Linked DNA regions of Homo sapiens: region 1 is linked to region 2. The links are contacts of gene promoters, found by promoter capture Hi-C in blood cells and fetal thymus (Javierre and others, 2016). All regions are on one chromosome and are shown on one strand. The core of a region is centred on a gene start or on the middle of the fragment in contact, and the rest is flanking DNA. Distances in the headings are between cores, read along the strand shown.

Region 1 (5,930 bases), core at 1,609-4,108, 250 kb after region 2:
TGACATCCCTGCTTCCCAGCATTCGAGGCCTTAAATGTGATGGGTAGGGATACTGCAGAGGGAAGGTGAGGCTCCCAATATCCAGTCCCACCATGATGTCTCAATATCCTACAGTGGGGGGAGGGGTGGTGCACCAAAACTGTAACTGTTGGAAATGCGAGCAGTGGCAAAAAAAAGTTACATGACAGCATCTATGCAAATTGTGGAAAAAGCACATTTCTGGTTTAGGCAGAAAATCAAAAGAAAAGGACAGTGCTTGCACCATCTCGAGGCTGTCATCACTAGCATTGGCTTTCTCCTCCCCCGCCACAGAGCCATGCTCTCCAAGCAGGTGGGAGTGCTGGGGACGCGGGGTCTGGACCAACAAGAGAGTCAGCTCTGGGGTCTTCAGTATCTTCCCATGGCTGGACCCCAAACAGGCCTTCGTCCTTCAGGCTCCCCACCAGAGGCCTTCCTGAACATCAGGAACCCCTCCCTAGAGGAATCTATCCCAACTGGGGGTGGCCTAGAGAGAGATATAGGCATGGAGGACCCTGGGCGGGTGGAGCTCCGTCAAGGTCAGGAGCAGGTTCCTAAGTCTGCCCTTCGCTTTTTGGCCCAGAGGCCTGGGTTTCTGCCATACCAGGGGCCCTCTCAATAGAGGACCCACCAGAACTTCTCCTGTGTGCATGGGCCGCTGCCAAAATTATAAAAACCCCTCCTTCTGTTCGCCATTTGGCCCAAGGAACGAGGAGGGAAAAGAGGACTCTCCCACCAGGTGCCCTTCCTGTAACACCCCAATTCCACACACCTCTCCTGTAGTGTGAAAGGAAACTCATTTTGAGTTGTGATTTTTGCCCAGCCCACCTGGGATTTGGGGAGCATTACTAAAGCACTGCTACAGCAGCAGGGCAGCACTCTGGGATTCAGGGGACCTGGGTTTTCATCTCAGCTCTGCTGCACACTGGCTGAGTGGCCTGAATCTCTGTCTCTCTAGGTCTCAGTCTCTCCCTCCGAAAAGTGAGGCATTTTTGGGGGGCAGGGATAATAAACATGGTATCCTTGCCCCTCCTGGGGTTTCTCTATCTATAACAGGCATTACCAATCGCTCACTGAGTCCTGCCTGAGCCCAGCAGTCCTCAGCACAGCATCTAGGGAGTCCCTACCAGTCGATCAGAGAATGTCAATCTGCGGCCATGTGATCTCTTAGAGCCCTGACAGCTGTAAACATCCTGAGCCCCTTGCTAAGCCTCTGAGACTCCCTGTACCTCTCTGTAGTCAGAGAGGATTCCCAGAGGCCTCTGATGGGTTAATCCCCACAAACGCCTTTACATCTGCTCCTTCCTCTCCAGGTGCACCCTGCCCATAGCCTTCCTGAGGCACTCCAGTCTTCTAATTGGTCTCCACGGTGCTGGTCTCTTCTCGAACTCCAGAGCAAGATTGGCTTTCTATAATTATTACTTTCCTTGTGCAACTCTTCCAGAATCTTCCATGGCATACATAACTATCTGCAGGATTTTTTGGCAGTTGGGCATCCAAGCCCCCTTCCTGATTTGGAGGACTCTCCCTCTGTGGGCTGTCCTGGTGGGATGCAGTGCCCTACCATGAAAGCTGAAGCAGGGGTTCCTCCTACCCAGGGTCCTCTGCTATCCAGGGACGGGGCATGGGACTGGGTTTGGCCAATCAGACTCCTACCCAGGGTGGGCTGGGACTGGGCCCTCCGGAGCTGTCTTGGTGCTGATCTGGTTCCAAGTCTGGCTCTCCACTGTCCCAGCTCTAGCCCTTTAAATCTATGAAGCCCCTAAACCCTTTCTGCATAAGAGGACTGGGGTTGGGGGTGATTTCTGTTGCTAGCAACAGATAACTACATCTGTGTTATCTCTGCTCCTCAACAATGTCTCCGCTTTTCAGAGACAGAAACTGAGACCTAGAGACAGAGATTTGGGCCACTCAGCCAGTGTGCAGCAGGAATCCTGACTTAGTCAGCTCCCCTTTCTCTGTCTTATCAGATCTGACTTACCTGCCTGGCCCTCGAGGGGCACGCACACCCTGTTCCCACCCCCAACTGCCCTCTAACCTTATTCTTTGGTTTGCTCAACCCTACAGGGGTCACACTTCTCAAGTGTGACAGACCCAATTTTAAATGTGATGTCTCAGGTCCTATGAAAATGGTGATTATCTCCCCCAATCCCAATATTTGGATGACCACCTTTTCCCAGACTTCTTCTCTGACAGAAACACAGAACTTCTCTGCCAGATCATGGGTGTCCTAACCCTTGGTTTGGGAAAATATGGCCCCCAAATCAGGGGGCTCCTCACTGGCCCCCTCCCTGCATTCCTTGTGACACGGTCTTTAGAAAGGCCTGCTCCTCTGGGCTTCTGCACCCCTCAAGAGACGCCCCAACTCCTGCTCCCACTGAGACGATTTAGTGCACTTCACATCTTGTGGTCTTCCTTTTCCCTCAGCTTTTCTTTCCAAAAAAAAATTTTTTTTTGAGATGGAGGGAGATCTTGCTCTCTCGCCCAGGCTAGAGTGCAATGGCACGATCTCAGCTCACTGCAACCTCCTCCTTCTGGGTTCAAGCGATTCTCCTGCCTCAGGTTCGCGAGTAGCTGGGATTACAGGCACCTGCCATCATGCCCGGCTAATTTTTGTATTTTTGTAGAGACAGGGTTTCACCATGTTGGCCAGGCTGGTCTAGAACTCTTGACCTCAGGCGATCTGCCTACCTCAGCCTCCCAAAGTGCTGGTATTACAGGCGTGAGCCACCGCGCCCGGCCCCTTTTCCCTAAGCTTTTCTAAGCCCTTCTTCCCACAGCATTTGTGATCATGCTGGCTGTCATTTACTGAGGGCTTCCCATGGGTCAGACCTGAAGCCAAGTGTTATTTCAATTTTTTAGCACAATAACCTTACGAAGTACAGGTCATTGTGTCCATTTTGCAGATGAGGAAACTGAAGCTTAGTGAGATTAACTAACACAGCGGCAAAGCCAGGATGCAACCCTTAGTCTTTCTGACCTTCAAATTAGAATGTAAGCTCCATGCAGGGTGGTGCTCTGTCTTGTCCTCTGCTATAACCCCAGTGTCTGGAATCGTGCTGGACACAAATGGTAAGCTCTCACCAAATTGTGTTGAATTAATGATGCCATAGACGGTGGACCTAATCAGGATCCCCTGTACAGTTGCATGGACTGTACACTGCACAACTCAAGGGGGTACCATTTGCATGGTGCAGAGCCTTCTGTTGTGCTCTGGGCCTAACCATGACACTGTCCTGCTTCTCCATTTAGCATTGTCTTGCGTTGTTTGCTTTATTTCACGGGTGTTTGTTGCCCTCCCAAGAGATTATCCACACTTTCATCTTAAATGAGATAATCATGGAGGGTTTCCAGCAGAGTGTGAGACATGAATGAAACCTCAGTGGTACAGACATGCTTCTTACACCCTCTGGTCTCAAACACAATGCCAGTCTATATTCAGGATCAAATGACTCCCCCAGCCACATGCTGCCAGCTGCAAAGATACTGTTGTCATTGAAGTGGGAGTGAGTCACATGGCACCATCCACATGCTCCCAGGCTGGGCCACTCTGCCTTGCCTCTTAGGGATAGCCACCGAGAGAACCGCCATCCACCAAGAGCGTGCACACTCTGCGGGGGCCCAGTGCCCACCATCTTCCCTGCCCAGACACCATAGAGACTCAGCCCTGGGCCATCACTGTCCCCATGGAAGTCATGGAATCTGTGGGCAGGGCAGGGGACCTCTGGCTCAGAACTTCAGCCTTGCTCCATCAGGGATATGTAAGGGGCCAGAGAAGGAGATGCACCACCTCCGAGGTAATGACCCTGGGAATCTATGGCCTTGAAAATGTCCTTTACATTGTAAGTGAACAGCCCCATGCTGAGATGACCAGTCCCTCCCCATCCCAAGCTTTCTCTCTGCTGCATCTGTGGAGGTTGGTTGATCCTCAGGGGCTGGGGTAGTGGGAGAAGGAACATATTGCACTCCGAACCCCTAGAAGTCAGGGTCTACTTTGGCTCAGCTCACGCTAATGACTGACTGAGCAAGTTCCTTCCTCCCAGGGCTTCAGTTTCCACATGAGCCAATAAATACAAACTCACTGGGCACGGGGCCTGGCACCACAGAAGCACTCGATAAATGGTAGTTATTATTATCATCTGCAAAATGCAGGTTAGCTTCCTCCCTCTGCCTCTGTGCTCTGCACAGCCCCTCGGACCAGACCCTCCTTTGTACTGTGCTTAATGGCTGTCATGGCTGTCACCCTCACCAAGGGTGAGCTTTCCATGGGTGGGGTATGTGTCTAACCCATCTTTGTACAGGCCTAGCATGGCCAGCTGCCCCGGTGCATGTGCTCAGAAAGTGTCTGCACAGTGGACCTGAACCATCAGGGCCCTTCCAGCTCTGCCAGTCTGGGGTTATATGTTGAATCTCCACCCAGCTCACCAAACACAGACAAGAACCCTCCCTGGGCCTGGAGCTGGCCACCTAGAGATGAATAAGATGGGATGATTCCCTTGGATGTCACTTCCACCACATTCTGTCTGTTTTAGTCACTACTGTATCCCAACACCCAGCACGGTGCCAGGCCCATAGTAGAGTCTCAATAAATATCTACTGAACTCATCCACGAGTGAGAAGCAGGTGATATTTCTGGGAAGGCCCTCACTCTGCCTGACCAGCTCGGAGGGCCAGGTCAGGGACTGGGTCCTACTGTCAAGCCAAGTTGGGCTGCTGGAGGGGCAGGGAGGGGAACACACCCTGAGTACAGCGGTCCCCTGGCCTCTAGCCAGATCCACTATCTGTCCAGTAACCTGGGGCTACATTTTCTACTCTAGTTCTTCCCTATCTGAGCACTGGAGGACCGGCAATGAAGGCTGGAGTTTGGGTGTGTGGTGCCTGAGTTTGGGGCTCCCAGGGGACATGGTGTGGGCAGCTCTTCTGAGCCTGGTGCTGGCTATGCCACCTGCTGATCCCTGGACACGCTCAGCTGCCTTCTTTTGTTTTCTTTTTTCTTTTTTGAAGTGGAGTCTCGCTCTTTTGCCCAGGCTGGAGTACAGTGGCACAATCTCAGCTCACTGCAACCTCTGTCTCCTGGGTTCAAATGATTCTCCTGCCTCAGTCCACTGAGTAGCTGGGATAACAGGCACCCACCACCTCACCTGGCTAATTTTTGTATTTTTAGTAGAGATGGGGTTTCACCATGTTGGCCAGGCTGGTCTTGAACTCCTGACCTCAGGTGATCTGCCCAAGTCGGCCTCCCAAAGTGTTGGGATTACAGGTGTGAACCACCGCCTGCTGTCTTTTCTCTGTTATTGCCCGACAGGCCTGGGGCACCCTTCTGGGGGCTCAGTGTGAGGGAGGGGAGAAAGGGCTCACACTGACACAGAAATTGGGGAATTCCTCCTCCTCCTCCCCCTGCTCTTACTATGGAGTGCTAGGCTGTTCTGCCTGACTCCTTCTCTGACAACAGGACCTGGGTCTGCTGTCCTCCCAGACTCAGTGGGAAAGGTCCTAACCCCGCCAGTGTTGTAGGAACAGCCAGCAGCCAGTGGCACGGGTGCTGTACAAGTCATCTGGGGGGAAAGTCAAGTGCATGTTAGGCCTTTGTCAGGAAGCAACAGACCTTGCAGGGGAAAGGAGAGCTCCTGTTAATTATGGAGGGGCAAGGCAGCCTCCTGGGCCAGGGGGCTGGGCCCCACCAGGCCTCCGAGAGGCAGGAGATTTTCATGAAATAACAGGAAACCCTCAATCCAGCCAACGTTCATGTTTTTCCATGGCTGCAGAGAGCCTGTGGCTGGCTGAACCAGGGGATCAGGACCTGTTCTTGACACAGTAGAGGGGACTTGGCCACCCAGCTATGGTGAAGGAGAGGGTGAAGGCAGGAACAGACATATCAGGAGAGGGGAGGCAGGAGACACACAGAATGGGGC
Region 2 (5,512 bases), core at 1,233-3,732:
ATTTTGGTATACTTATTTTAAAAACAAAATTAAAATTAGAGAAAAAGTAGAGAGACAGATACAGAGAAAGCAGCCATGTACCACTGCCTGCTCTATATATTCCTTAATCCACTTCTGTAGAAGAAAGGTAATTACATATTCCAAGACATCTTCTATGATTACAACCTGTATATAGTTTCCTTATGTCTTATAACATCTATATATTCAACACAAAATCACTCCTTTTTTCTGGGAAGCGTCTTTTCATTTCCTACAACCCTTTTCTTTCTTCCCAAGAAAGATTAGGGAATAGGGTGCTAAGAAAGACAACAGGCTGGCTGGGCACAGTGGCTCAAGCCTGTAATCCCAGCACTTTGCAAGGCCGAGGCGGATGGATCATTTGAGGTCAGGAGCTCGAGACCAGCCTGGCCAACATGGTGAAACCCCGTCTCTACTAGAAATACAAAAATTAGCCAGGCGGTAGTGGCGTGCGCCTATAATCCCAGCTACTCAGGAGGCTGAGGTGGGAGAATCCCTCGAGCCTGGGAGGCAGAGGTTGCGGTGAGCCGAGATCGGGCCACTGCACTCTAGTCTGAGCTAGAGAGTGAGACCCTGTCTCAGGCAAAAAAAAAAGGGGGGGAAAAGGGAAGGGGAGGGGGAGGGGAAAATTATGGTGTTAGGCAAGAGACTGCACTGAGTTAAGTGGGTGTCCAGGGACTCCTACCTAGCAGTCCCAGAGTGTACTGTGTGACAGTGTTAAAGTCACTTCAGTTAAAGTCTCCATATATGTTAGTCACTTGTGACTTGCTGATCTACAACTACCAAAATGCAATAACTGGTGTTAGTAATAATGATCATCAGACATCAAGAAAAGATAGTAGCATCTTCATTATGTTCTGGTCCTCTATGTCAAGGAAGAAAAATTTTACAAAACTTTTTATTAAAAACAGCTACAAATCATAAATGCTAGTATTTAAAGAGCTAACTTTAGTTACCTAGAACTTCATCTAGAACTTTTCCCATTACTATTCATAATTTAGATTGTGTTGTATTTTCAGTTTTTAAATTTGATTTTTAACTAAGATCGTTTAGCAATTCTGAAAAATAGATTTGCATAATCAGCATGCACGATAGCGCTTTTTTTACACCTGTTAAATTGTATTTATTGATTTAAGTGAAACCAAACTCCAACATTACTAAATGCCACAATGAACTACAGTTAGACTAAATGGGGAAGCCTCACCTACCTGACTTAAATACTAAGTGCCTTAAGGTGCCCACATGATATTGTTAATATAGTAAAGTCTTAGCACCCCTGAATTTGACCTTATTGGTTTTCAGCTTTCGGGGAGGGACAAAAATTGCTCCTTGGCAGGTCTTAAGTTATAATCCTGCTTAACTAAGGCTTTGAATGCCGTGTGCGCAAGCATGCTCTCTGGGAGCGCATCCTCAGGTGAGTGTCCCAGACCGCGACCCACAATCCACATGCTCTCCAAATTTTACCGTACGGGTCAACCTTTTTTTCTGTACAGGGCCAGAGAGTAAATACTTCAGTCTTTGCAGACCAGACTGTGTGGCAACCACTTAACCCCGTTGTTCTAACGTGGGAAAGCAGCCATGGGCAATACGTAAAGGAATGAGCGTGGTGGTGTGCCAGTAAAACTTTATTCACGAACAATGAAATGTGAGCGTCATGCTTTTCCACAAGTCATGAAAGAGTACATTTCATATTTACTTTGAAAATGCAAAAATAGAACATCACACACCAGGGCCTGCCGTGGGGTGGGGGGAGGGGGGAGGGATAGCATTAGGAGATATACCTAATGTAAATGACAAGTTATGGGTGCAGCACACCAATATGGCACATGGATACATATGTAACAAACCTGCACGCTGTGCACATGTACCCTAGAACTTAAAGTATAATAATTAAAAAAAAAGGAAGAAAATGTAAAAATCATTCCTAGCTGGCCAGCAGCTGTCACACGACCCCTGCACGGTCACACGCCCAATGGCTGGGGAAGGATCGGGTGGGCAGAGGAAGGCCTCCGGTGAGGTGAGGGGGTTCCACCCGCGCCCACGGCCCGCAGGCGCTTCCCGTCTCATCTGGGCCGCGCCGCCTCAGTTGCTGCGTTCCCTGACCAGGAGAGGAGAGGGACACCCCTCGGCGTCGAGGCCAGGACCCCGGACAGTGGGGGAGGGAGGCATGTAGGACCAGGGAGAAGGAAGGGCCAGGCTTCGAGGTCGCGGAGCTCGGGAAGTTCCCCCAGGGTGTCCCCGGTCCGCTGCCTCCTCAGGCCCGTCACTCACTCGGATAAGCCGGCACAGACGAAGGCCATAGCAAAAGCGCAACTAGAAGGACTAAGGGCTTCATAGGCGTCGTCCGTAGCACTCTGCCATGCGACCGGAACGTCCTGGGGCCACCAGGCTGGGAACCTCAAGGCCGAAAGGGAAGGTGTCAGCGGAGTACCGTCCTGCCTCAGGCCCTGGGACACCCAGCAACGGTTGTCCCCAGCGCGCAAGCGCAGCGGCATGGGGGAGGGGAGAGCGAGCGGCCAAGGCCCGCCCCTCCTGGGACCGCGTGCAGGGGGCGGGGGATCGCGCGCGCCCCGCCCCGCCCCTTCCTAGTGCGCATGCTCGCTCCGCCTTCGTAGGTCCGCGCCTGGTGTGGGCTGGGAACGCCTCGACGCCCGGCTACTGCGTGCGGGGTGCTGCCTCGGGGCGTGCGGGGCTCGGCCCATCCTGCGCGGTAGGGATACCGCCGTGGTTTAAACGCGGTCCCTGTGAGGAAGGAACTGTAATGGGAGAGGCAGATAACCTGGCAATTACCACAGCGTGAAAGGGGGCTGTAGTGGGGGAAGCGCTAGGTACTGTTGTGCACAGTGGAAACCCACCCCCGGAAGCGGGTGGGGAGCTTGGCTAAGTGGAGGACAGCTTGGAGCACCCCAAGAACTGAGCATAGTTCCGGCGAGTTGCATTGTGGGGCTTGGGAGGGCAGTTGTTGGAGGACAGGGAGGAGAGGTAGGCAAGGGCATTAAAAACGCCCTAAGGGGCTTGGGTGTTTTTGTTTTTCAAAAGATCACATTCCATTTCTTTGACCTTCTTAAAAAGATAGGGGTAGGGATGAGGGAGAGTACGACTATGAAAGGATAGCATGAGGTTGTTTTGGGGACTAATAGATGGCAGTGGCCACAAGAATCTATACATGTGTTAAAATTCACAGAAGGCCGGGCACGGTGGCTCACTCCTGTAATCCCAGCACTTTGGGAGGCCGAGGTGGGCGGACCACCTGAGGTCAGGAGTTCGAGACCAGCCTGACCAACATAGTGAAACTTCGTGGCTACTAAAAATACAAAATTAGCCAGGCGTGGGTGGTGGCACACGCCTGTAGTCCCAGCTACTTGGGAGACTGAGGCAGGAGAATCACTTGAACCCGGGAAGCAGAGGTTGCAGTGAGCCGAGATCGTGCCACTGCACTCCAGCCTGGGCGACAGAGCAAGACTCCACCTCAAAAAAATAAATAAAAATAAAAATTCGCAGAACTGCACATCCCAAAGAATCTGTTTTTCTGTATGGTTATTTTTAAAAATTCACGTACACTCATCTCTGCCTCAGGAAGCAAGGGGCTTGGATTTTAGTCTGAGGCACCAGTACTAGAGTACTGCTAGGTTTTGAGCTGGGAACGGTTGTGATTAGATTTGTATTCCAGAAAACTCACTCTTCCTGTAGCATGAAGAATGGACTGGAGGGAAGCAAGACTAGAGGCGCCGGCGGAAACTGAGACTGCGCACGGCGCTTGCGGGCCAGCCCGAGTTCCGGGTGGGCGTGGGCTCGGCGGGCTCGGTGGGCCCGGCACTCAGCGCGGCCGGCCGTCCCCGCTGGCCACGGGCAGTTGGGGGGAGCTTAGCACCTGGGCCAGGAGCTGCTGTGCTCGATTTCTCGCCAGGCCTTAGCTGCCTCCCCGCAGGGCAGGGCTCGGGACCTGCAGCCTGCCATGCCTGAGCCTCCCTGAGGAGCGCCGCTCCCTGCTCCACGGCGCCCAGTCCCATCGACCGCCCAAGGGCTGAGGAGTGCGGGCGCAGGGCCGGGGACTGGCAGGCAGCTCCACCTGCGCCTGGGTGTGGGATCCACTGGGTGAAGCCAGCTGGGCTCCTGAGTCTGGTGGGGACTTGGAGAACCTTTATGTCTAGCTAAGGGATTGTGAATGCACCAATGGGCACTCTGTGTCTAGCTCAAGGTTTGTAAATGCACCAATCAGCACCCCGTGTCTAGCTAATCTAGTGGGGACTTGGAGAACTTTTGTGTCTAGCTCAGGGATTGTAAATGCACCAATCAGCACCCTGTCAAAACGGACCAATCAGCTCTCTGTAAAGTGAACCAATCAGCAGGATGTGGGTGGGGCCAGATAAGGGAATAAAAGCAGGCTGCCCGAGCCAGCAGTAGTAACCCTATGGAGTCTCTTTCTGTCGTGTGGAAGGTTTGTTCTTTCGCTTTTTGCAATAACTCTTGCTGCTGTTTACTCTGGGCCCACACTGCCTTTATAAGCTGTAACACTCGCTGCGAAGGTCTGCCGCTTCACTCCTGAAGCCAGTGAGACCACGAACCCACCGGGATGAATGAACAACTCAGATGGGCCACCATAAGAGCTGTAACACTCACCATGAGGGTCTACAGCTTCACTCCTGGTCCAGCTAGACCACGAATCCACCAGAAGGAAGAAACTCCAAACACATCCGAACATCAGAAGGAACAAATTCCGGACATGCTGCCTTTAAGAACTGTGACACTCACCACGAGGATCCACGGCTTCATTCTTTAAGTTAGACCAAGAACCCACCAATTCCGGACACATGTTGAGGAACCAATGTCTCCAGCCAACAGCCAGTAAGGACCTGAGGCCTGACAACAATCAGGTGAGTGAACTTGGTAATAGATTCTCCCCAGGTGAGCCTGGAGTTGACCACAGCCCGGCTGACATCTTGATTGTAGCTGCCTGAGAAACCCAGAGATGGAGGCACCCAGCTAAGCCACGCTTAGATTCCTGACTCACAGAAACTGTAAGACAGTAAGTGCTTGTTAAATGGAGGAGGAGAAAGCATTTGCGTAAGCAATAGCTACATACAAGGGTCTCTGTTGATTTGTTCCTTGAAAGAGACCATGCTTGGAAAGGCACCTGCAGTTGGGTACACTACTTAATTGAGTTAATAATTGTCAGTCATTCTTCCAGGTCCATCTGTTTTCATTACCAGTCAAGCTGGAAGGCAGGTATAAATTAAGATAATTGATTCAGATATTTTAGGGTGACACTATAGCTAGTCAACAAGGGATTGTTATAACTTGTGCATTACTATTTTGATTGGGGGTTGGAGAGTGTAATAAAGCTCTGTGGATTCTTCATAGTCTTTTCTATCTTGCTCACCCTTGTTCTAAAGGTTAGGAAACCAATGTGAAGATTCTGCCTTATGTCCTTTAAATGTACACTCAGGAATTGGGGAAAAAACACTGGAAGGGTTTAGGGTTCCATCGAACTTAC

The links. The method cuts DNA at HindIII sites, captures the fragments that hold promoters and counts their contacts. A CHiCAGO score of 5 or more calls a contact.
Region 1: a contact is called between a fragment that was not itself captured here and the fragment with the promoter of SPESP1 in region 2, in 2 of 17 cell types (naive B cells and fetal thymus). The highest score is 6.0, in naive B cells.

The regions. Positions count from the first base shown.
Region 1 is chr15:68,677,762-68,683,691 of GRCh38, reverse strand. All of the region lies in intron 2 of CORO2B (coronin 2B), which reads right to left. Among named protein-coding and RNA genes, the nearest start is that of CORO2B, 100 kb to the right of the region's middle. The HindIII fragment of the contact is 166 bases long and covers 2,776-2,941 here.
Region 2 is chr15:68,927,495-68,933,006 of GRCh38, reverse strand. SPESP1 (sperm equatorial segment protein 1) reads right to left here and starts at 2,482. Exons shown (of 2, transcript NM_145658.4): 1 at 2,290-2,482. The coding sequence starts at 2,353. It overlaps SPESP1-NOX5 (SPESP1-NOX5 readthrough), which reads right to left and starts at 2,482. Exons shown (of 17, transcript NR_033672.2): 1 at 2,290-2,482. The HindIII fragment of the contact is 10,282 bases long and covers 1-5,512 here.